Regions from separate parts of the Homo sapiens genome. Here region 2 is linked to region 1. The links are contacts of gene promoters, found by promoter capture Hi-C in blood cells and fetal thymus (Javierre and others, 2016). All regions are on one chromosome and are shown on one strand. The core of a region is centred on a gene start or on the middle of the fragment in contact, and the rest is flanking DNA. Distances in the headings are between cores, read along the strand shown. Region 1 holds the start of IKZF5 (IKAROS family zinc finger 5). Region 2 holds the start of MGMT (O-6-methylguanine-DNA methyltransferase).

The links. Contacts are between HindIII fragments. The CHiCAGO score rates a contact against its expected background, and 5 or more counts as called.
Region 2: a contact is called between a fragment that was not itself captured here and the fragment with the promoter of IKZF5 in region 1, in 1 of 17 cell types (monocytes). The highest score is 7.2, in monocytes.

The regions. Positions count from the first base shown.
Region 1 is chr10:123,007,252-123,011,938 of GRCh38, reverse strand. IKZF5 (IKAROS family zinc finger 5) reads left to right here and starts at 3,144. Exons shown (of 5, transcript NM_001372123.1): 1 at 3,144-3,245. ACADSB (acyl-CoA dehydrogenase short/branched chain) reads right to left here and starts at 2,933. Exons shown (of 11, transcript NM_001609.4): 1 at 2,868-2,933. The coding sequence starts at 2,909. RefSeq lists enhancers at 3,028-3,357, 3,638-3,867. The HindIII fragment of the contact is 4,856 bases long and covers 1-4,427 here.
Region 2 is chr10:129,464,745-129,469,347 of GRCh38, reverse strand. MGMT (O-6-methylguanine-DNA methyltransferase) reads right to left here and starts at 2,107. Exons shown (of 5, transcript NM_002412.5): 1 at 2,052-2,107. RefSeq lists silencers at 1,808-2,007, 2,028-2,467 and an enhancer at 1,319-2,241. The HindIII fragment of the contact is 635 bases long and covers 1,063-1,697 here.

The DNA.
Region 1 (4,687 bases), core at 1,895-4,394:
TCAAGGTTACGGTGAGCTATGATCACGCCACTACACTCCAGCCTGGGCAAGAGAGTGAAAACTTGTCTAAAAAAAAAAAAAATCATCTCTTAAAAGACATCAAGCGGCCTGGTGTGGTGGCTCACGCCTGTAATCCCAGCATTTTGGGAGGCCATGGCGGGTGGATCATGAAGTTAGGAGTTTGAGACCATTTCCATCTTGCTGACCAAGATGGTGAAACCCCATCTGTACTAAAACTACAAAAATTAGCCAGGCAAGGTGGCAGGCGCCTGTAATCCCAGTTACTCGGGAGGCTGAGGCAGGAGAATCGCTCGAATCCGGGTGGCATAGGTTACAGTGAACTGAGATCGCACCACAGCACTCCAACCTGGGCGACAGAGTAAGACTCCGTCTCAAAAAAAAAAAAAAAAAGATATCAAGCTACATTAAAATGCTTTGGAACCACAGGTTAACTACAAGGTCCAATTCTCCACTAATTGGGTTGCTTAGACCAAATGGGCAGGACAGTTCTAATCCATCTGCAGGACTAGGAGAGACCTTCTGAGAAGGCAGGGGTAGGCTGAAGGTCAGCATTGCAATCTGATTGTTATGTGACTTGGGAACACTGGTTATTGCCTCCGAGTTCCTCATTTGCAAGATGAAGCCACTAATATACCTACTTCAGAGGTTTACAGGAAGAGTAAATAGGGTAGTGGGTGTAAAATGCTGTCCCTGGTCTACAATAAGTGAGTAAATGCTAGCTTTCCATTTGCCTCTGGATAGAAACCAAAATTAGCCCTACCTTGCATTTCTCCCCACTCCATGCCACTTGTGTCCACAGCCATCTACCTACACTGTGGCATGAGGAAACTCCAAAGCTCTTGACCTTCAATGGCTCCTAACAATCCAAAAGGATCAACCCCCAATTCCCTAAAGTGGCCTCAGTCCCCTTTTGTTGCAGTTTTCTGACCACTCCTTTCCCCTCCTAAACTCTAACCCAGCTTCCAAAGAGCCTATCACTTCCCCAATGGTCCTAGTCATTTCTATCTTCTGAATCTGCACGCAGACTGTAGCCCCTTAGGATTTGTTCCACACCTACATGACATGGGGTTAGTTGCACATAGTTCTAACCTTTCCTCTAAAAGATAAACTTCTTGGAGGTAGAGTATTTTATTCATTATTACATCTGGCATAGCACACAATGCTTCGTGCATGGCAGTAAGAGCTGATATTTACCGAGAGCTGACTACATTCCGAGCACTATTCTAAGTGCCTTACATGAACATATGAGCTCATTTAATTTTCACAACAATTTTGGAATACGCACAATTATTCTCTCCATTTACAGACCAGGAAACTGAGACCCAAAGCATAACCTGTCCAAGGTTATACCACTAGGAAGTGAGAGGGCCTGGGTTCAGATCCAAGCAGCCTAGCTACAGAACCTACGTTCTTAACCACTATGCTACAGTCGATGTTCAATCAATTTAGCTAATTTATGTAAAAGAGCTTCAAAAACTATAAAGGACTATAAGCCACAATAAACCAAAAGTTCAAACAAAATAGGTTTTTGATATCTCTAAGGACGGGGAGACAGTAGTATATGAAGGTTAAGTTTAGAATCAGACCAGAGTTCGAATACCACCAGCTCTATCCCTTTCTATCTGTGGGCAAGCTATTATTCTTTTTCAGCATCTGCAAGATTAAACTACTTGTTAAGATGGTTGTGAGAATTGAGATGACTCAGGTAGAACGAGAACGTGCCTACCACAGAGTATGCGGTCAATAAATTTTGGCTCTAAAACAGAGTCAAATTGTAAAACCAAAGAAATTTTCTTTGCTAAGTTATTAACCAACAATTATAAACAGTATTAAACAATAATCACTTACTGTTTTTTATTGCACTTCAGGCCTGTAAAACAGTCAAATAACATTAATTATCTCTAATAAGAAAAAGGGTCAGAGTTCTGCCTCTGGGCATAAGACTGAAGCAGCAGTTGGAAAGCCTAACTCATTAAAGCAAATGCAAAGGAAACATTAAAAGCACACGTAAGCAGTGGGAAAATTCCCAGTGAAGTGTACTGACAAATACAAGTGTATCCAAATGTGTATGTTCTGAAAAGCATGCTATATAATAGGTCCAAGGGGTGAAGAGCATAGGATGTTAACACAGGGGCTGTTAACAGTTTGTGTGGGTGCACAGATAAGAATTAAGCACAACAAGAGGCTGGTTTCAGCTTAAGTTCATGGAAGAGGGACCGGCACCGGCTCCGGCTCCCCTGGGCGGCGGTGAGTCTATCCACGGAAGATACCCAGGCTCCAGACATGAGATAAGGGGCAGAGGGAACTCTGTCCCTGGCCGGGAAGCCCGAACAACTCCGAAGTCCCTTACTACCTTTGAGCGGGGCCGCGGAAGGAAGGACAGGGAGACACCTGCTCAGAATGAGACTGGGCCTATATTTTAACTATCTTTTTTGGGGGAGGGGGTGTGAAATGTAATCACTCGGGAAAGGTGCGTTAGGGCATCAGGGAGGTGACATCTGTGCAAAATGCATCCAGAGATCCAGAGATCCAGACTCGGTGGCTCTCAGGACGCAACGGCCTGCAAAGGACATCTTGCGGACGCGACCCTCCGACTCCACTCAAGGTACTTGCTCCGCCAAAGCAGCTTCTAGACAGCCCCGACCCCCTTGCCACCAGCTGCCTCCACCAGAGGCCTGAAGGGGGTCGGGGTCATAGACTGCCCGCGGGTAAAGAGTCTGGGGACCCAGGACGTGGAGCGGGGCTCAGGCCGGCGCCCCGAGGCCCGTTAGAAGGCTCTGCCAGCTGCGATTCCAGGGGCCAAGGTCGCCCTGGGCCCCCAGGACGCCAGCCTCGAACGCACTCACCAGCCTGCTGCCGCGCAGCAACCGCACTGCCAGGCCCTCCATCCTCGCCGCAGGCCTCTCCGCTCTGCGCCTCTGGGTCTCTAGCCAGCCCCTGGGAGTTACCCGAGCAAGGCCCCGCCCACTCAGTACCCGCCCCGCACACACCCCCCCTTAATCCCTGCCCCCTGCTGCCTACGGAACCCCAAGAGAGACAAACAGGCCCCTCCTCGCTTTCGCCCTCCATCCTGCTCACGCGAGACTTGAGCAAGGCAGGGGGGCGGGAAGGGAGTCGGAGACACAACAAAGATGGCGGCGGCGACTGTGACGGTGACGAAGACGGCGGCGGCGGCGACGGCATTTAACAAGGCGGTGTGGTTTACTCCATGCAGTTGTCAGGAGGTAAGTAGCAGGCTGCCGGCTCGGACGGCGGCGACGCGGCAGGACAGGGCGGATAAGAAGGAGCGGCCGGAGACTGGAGCTGGGTTCGTGGCGGGCCGGCTGATCCGGACGGAGACTCAGTTCAGTGGAGGGTCGGGCGTGGTCGGTAGGCGGGCAGGTGATGGCCCGGGACCTCTTTAGCCGGAGGGCAGTGGACTGCGGCGCCTATGGCCGCGAGAACCCCGAGGGAGCGGGGTCTCCTGCTGTCATTGCCTTCGAGCAGGAGCTCGGAGGCTCCGGGGCGGGGACTGTTGCTTGGCTCTGACAGGTGGTTCTGCGGGAGGCGTCCCGAGGTTTGCGTCTTCACGGGGTCCCAGGGGCTGGGAGTCAGCCGGGCGCGGGTCTCCTAGGTGTTTCGAATCCTGGCGAGGATGTCGCTCCGAATCTTGGTGAGGCTGCTGCCCCGACGCCGGTCCCAGGCTGATTGTTGGGAGAAGGACGTTTAAAGCCTTCGTATTTTATCTAATGATCCTGCCCGGATCCGTCTCTACTGCATGGGCACCCTTATTTTAGGAACATGTGAGATTTGAGAAAGACATTGTAGCAAATAACTATTCAGGTTCATTCGGGGTTTAGATCTTTGGATAAACTGTGTGGAGCGCGAGTAGCCAAGCCTAGCATGCTCGATGACTGGATCTGAAGCTAAACAAGTTCTAGCAAACACTAACCACGTGGCCTGCTTAGAGTCCCCTTGATGTGCTGGTCAGAACCCGAAAGACGTGTGACAAGCGGAAGAAGACATAAAGGCGTCTTAAATTGTGTGATCTGAGGAAATTCAGTTTTGAAAGAACAGAATGTATTTAAAACAACTTTTTTTTAAACGTAGGAACTAACAATTTTAAAAATTCAATTTAATTTTGATTTATGTCGTGTTGTCACAACAGCTAAAGGTTATTATTATTGATGAGAGTTCGTTACAGTGAATTGAAATGTCTGGTGTTATTTTCCCCTAGCGGTCCAGGATGTTTCCCAGAAAACCGTAGCTGTTTTGTGTTATGATAGGATAAGAAGGATGGGATTCAGATGTGCCCTTATCGGGTGTGCATGTTTTTTTTGTTTTTGTATTTAAAGCCCTTTCCCATTTCCCTACTTAGGACTATGCGTTGTTTTTATGCAACTACAGCTGTTCAGCAGTACTAAGCTTGACCGTTTTGGAAGTGTGCTGTGACTAAATGAAGTTAATCTTAATTTCTTTAAACTGAAGTTTAACTTAAATTTAGACATTAAAAATCTTGCCAAAAACTAATCCACCAGTGAGAAAACGGTAGTCACACCAGTTATTCTTTGGTGATCCTATGGAGCTTTTGCTGAAGTGAAGCTACTGCTTTGTTCTTTGATTAATCTGTCAGTTCGTTTTCTTTTCAGCTAATGTAATGATAAGATTGGCATAAGTTACTAGCTCA
Region 2 (4,603 bases), core at 131-2,630, 6.5 Mb before region 1:
AATGGAAGGTCTGAATCACTGGCTCCTAAATGTGTGTCCTCTGCAAAACAGAACAGACAATTTAGTAACTTTATTTTATTATAAAATACTGAAAGAGTCAGGGTTTTGGTGTCCTAAGAAAGGGTGGGAAGAGGACTGGAGAGGAACAAACTCTGAGGGGGCAATGGGGAAGGCAAGTTCTTTTTCAGGCCCTTCCTACCCCCTTCTTCCCTGCAAAAGGACAGAGGAGGCCCTGATTGAGACACCTGGGGAGGAAACCCAAACAACGAAAAGTAAGGCCCAGGTGATATCAAAGTAAGACCTCAACAAGGTTCAAGAATCTGAGCAGCTGAACAAGGTGCTACCCAATGTATACCTAGGGCTCTATTTCTTTCAACCTTACTAACAGCAAAGCCTTTTTAAAGTAGTGCCTAATACTATTAGTTAAATCCTTATTTTGATACAGATTTTTTTGTTTCCCCTTCAGGACAGTTTCACTCTCGTCGCCCAGGTTGGAGTGCAATGGCGCAATCTCGGCTCACTGCAACCTCCGCCTCCCAGGTTCAAGCAATTCTCCTGCCTCAGTCTCCCAAGTAACTGGGATTACCAGCATGCACCACCACGCCTGGATAATTTTTGTGTTTTTAGTAGAAACTGGGTTTCACCATGTTGGCCAGGCTGGTCTCAAACTCCTGACTTCAGGTGATCCACCCACCTCGGCCTCCCAAAGTGCTGAGATTACAGGCGTGACCCACTGTGCCTGGCCCAGATTTTTTTTTTTTAATGAAGATATATACATTGAAAAGTACCTGAGTATAGCTCCGTACTGGTGGTCTACTTCATCCAGGCCCCTGACTGTGGCAGACACTACTCCACTATTCAAATTCCAACCCGAGACAGAGGGCCCAGGAAGAAAGACACGCGGCAGAGCAAGGCCAGCTCTCCTCTGCTACTTGCAGGCAGACTCCGGGTCTGGGCAAGTATCCTGGCCCTCTGAGTTAACGTGATATTAACAATCAGCCAGGCTCTTGACGCGGTTTCCTTCAAAGTTTTCACACCCCCACCCACCAGGTGCGCTAAGCTTTGGGTTTTTAAAATCTTGTTCATCTCCCAGAGTGTTTTAGCCATTGAGAGGGCCCTGAAAATAACAAAACCATCTCCTAGACACCTGCCCAGGGATGGGGGAGATGACGGGAGAGCCTGACTTAACAGATACTCTATAGGTTTCTATTTGGATGTCTATGTAAATAACCAGTCTAATTCTCAGCTCTCTGTGCTTAACATTCTACTGAGAACAGCTCTCTGGACCAAGCCGCTTCCCTGTCTGATGATGATCTCAGCAGGCATAGGTTGCACACACATGTACAAAGTCTGCTTTCCAGGACAGAAAGCCAGCTACTCAGCTGAAGCAACTGAGAGCAAACACCACCCTGAGATTTCAGGAGATGATGAACCCAGGAGTGCGAAATACATAGTTCAGAACTCCTCTGCGGTGTTATAACCGACATTACGGTGCCCAGTGTGTGTGGCTCTCCAGCGAGCCTTGCTTACTCTAAGTGTTGATGAATACAGTTAGGGTATGATGTACACAAACACCAGCCATAGTAACCAGAAGGCCCCTAGAACTTGGCCTCCAGCAGGAAGGAAATATGGGACTCTGCCTAAGTATGCTAAAGGGTTGCTGCAAGCCAAGGCCCGCGCAGGGGCTTCTGGAAGCTTCCTGGAGCAGCTGGCGGAGGGAAAGCTGGCAGCATGGAAGGGTAGGAAGAACCCGGGGCCCGGGCCTGGGGCTGGCACCTAGAGGTAAGGCAGGGGCTGCCACGACCCCCGCCACACGCCAGTCCACAGTCACTGCAGCGCAGCCTAGTCCAGGAACCCCAGGCCCGGGGAAAGGCTGGGCAACACCTGGGAGGCACTTGGGGCGCACCTGGAGCTCGCCCGGGATGGGTGGGGGTCAGGGCGGCCCCACACCCGACGGCGAAGTGAGGGCGCCTGCAGGACCACTCGAGGCTGCCACCGTCCCGAGGGAGAGCTCCGCACTCTTCCGGGAGCGAGGCGACCCAGACACTCACCAAGTCGCAAACGGTGCGCACCGCGAGGACCTGCGGGCGTCGGGACGCAAAGCGTTCTAGGGGCGCGGGCTGTCCCAGCATATCCGGGGCGCGGGGGCGGGGCCGAGGGGCACGGGGATGGCGGCGTGGGGCGGGGTCTAGAGCGGGGCGGAGCCGAGGACCTGAGAAAAGCAAGAGAGCGCGCGGGGGCGGGGCCGGGGCGCGCGGGGGCGGAGCTGGGGCGGAGCCCGGGAGGGGCGGGGTGTTCCCGCCCGACCGGGTCGGCGCATGCCCTGTGCGGCGGCGCCGGGCCTGAGGCAGTCTGCGCATCCTCGCTGGACGCCGGCACGCCGGCCCTGGTCCTCCGGCAGCGCCGCTGCCCTGTGCGCCTGACCCGGATGGCCCTTCGGCCGGTACAAGCCGGGCGGCGCCTTCCCAGCTTCCGCCTGAGGCTCTGTGCCTTAGTTTGCCAAATGGCCCGTACCTTTTCCTGTCACAGGGATAGTCCGCGGGCGTGCAAGCGACCTGCCACGTGCCCGAGTGGTCCTGAAAGCGCGCGGGGGTCGTAGGACGGCGCCCGCTTAGTGAGAATCCCGGTCCTGCTCGGGGCGGCTACGCTGAGCCCGGAGCGCGAGTCTCTCCCCTCCTGGTGCCGCTCCCCTAGTCAGGGACCCCCAGACCAGCAGAGACCCTGTCAGGGGGCCGTGGGGGCAGCCTCCAGGGCCTGTGGTGGGCGATGCCGTCCAGGGGCTGCAGTCACCGATGGCCTAGACACTGCCAGAGCCTGACTCAGCCGCTCTCCAGAGAGCACACAGGGTGCCAGGCCCTGCTTGGGGTTGTGTGGACGTTATTAGGAGTTGAATTGTGTCCACCAGAGAAGCTATGTTGGAGTCCTAACTCCCAGTACCTCACAATGTGACCTTATTTGGAGATGGGGACTTTACAGAAGCCATCAATTAGTGGGCCCCTCATCCAGTATGACTCGTGTCCTTATAGGCAGAAGGCCGCTTGGGGAGGAGGATTGGAGGGCTGCACCTGCAAGCCACCAGAAGCCTAAGAGGACAGACCCTTCCCTGGAGCCTTCGGAGGGAGCAGAGGACACTCTTCCCTGGAGCCTTCAGAGGGAGCAGGATCCTAACACACCTGGGTTTCAAACTTCTGGCCCCCGGAAGTGTGAGACAATAGGTTTCTGTTGTTTTAAGCCACTCAGTGTGTGGCACTTTATTATGGCAGCCCCAGGCAATGGGTACAGAAACCATTGTCTCTAACGTGGTTGGCATAAGCACCCCAGGGAGTAGTATCATCCCTGGAGGCTTCGGAGAGGTCACACACCCCTTGGCAGGATCCCATCCAAGGCCCACATGTTCTAAGCCACCATGCTACGGGCCTTCTAGGTTCTGTTTGTTATCTTAATGGAAAGGGGTCTTCACCTTCCCGGTGAAGTTTCCCTGTTGGGATTCGGCCAATGCTCATACCTTCGTATTTGTGACTTGCAGGATCCAACATATTAGCATGAGTGATAAGGGTTGTTCAGAGGAGAACTTCAGCAGGATTTGCTTTGGGATGAGCCCTGGTGACAATACAGGCTGCATCATTGATCCTCTGAGGTTCCCCACCCCGACCCTGCCTTGGATGAGACATGTTTTAAATAGCTGCTTGTGGGAAATAAACTAGGCCCTGAGTACACGATATAATGGTCAAATCAAGGCACTTTTTCCCCACTGAACCTGGACACAGCCTCGGAATCCTTCTCAACACTGTGTTCCAAGCAGCCATTCACATTTAAACTAATGTGGAAGGACAGATGAAACATGTTTGCCCTTGGCTCTGGTTTTTTCCATTAGCCTTCTATAAGACTTCGGGAAACTCGTCTGACTTCTCTAATCCTCAGTTTCATACTCTGTAAAGGAGTCTCATGATAACGTACCCTACGTGTGTACAAACTATCCTTCCATATTAGGGCATGTGTGCATAGGGAAAATAAACCACCAGCACCACACCACACTACTAAGAAATAATGCTATACACCTGGCCACTTACAGCCTGTTACTACCAGGACCCAGTTAGAACCGGGATCTTAATAGAACCAAAGGAAAAACAATGCCGAAATGGAATCAGAGTGCCGACTGATATTCTAACAAGTGTGCTGTTAAGTAGTTTTGCAGTTAACACATGACTCATACGTTTATCTGAATAATATTTTAAGACGAATCCCTAAACTCTTAAGAAAAAGAGACTGGCCAGTCTTAGCATCTCTAATTCCCCACCCTAGGAAAGAAAGGCCAATGTGGTCATCCAAAGGCCCTTTAGGAGGGCCCTGTGGGAATGGGGAGGCGGTCCACGAGAGAAAGTGCTGGCTTCCCAGGGAGATGTGTGGACCTGGCCCTGGCTGTACTGAAAGAACTCAGTCCCCTTGCTGGCGTGGTGGGAAGAACTATGTGAAGGGCCACAGCTACTTCAGTGGTAAGGACTGTGTCAGGGGCTCCAGGATCAGGAGCCAAATAAGGGTCTCAGTGCAGAGGGGAAAGAGGAAAAAGGCCACCACCTGACCAAGGACTGGCCTGCAAAAGACC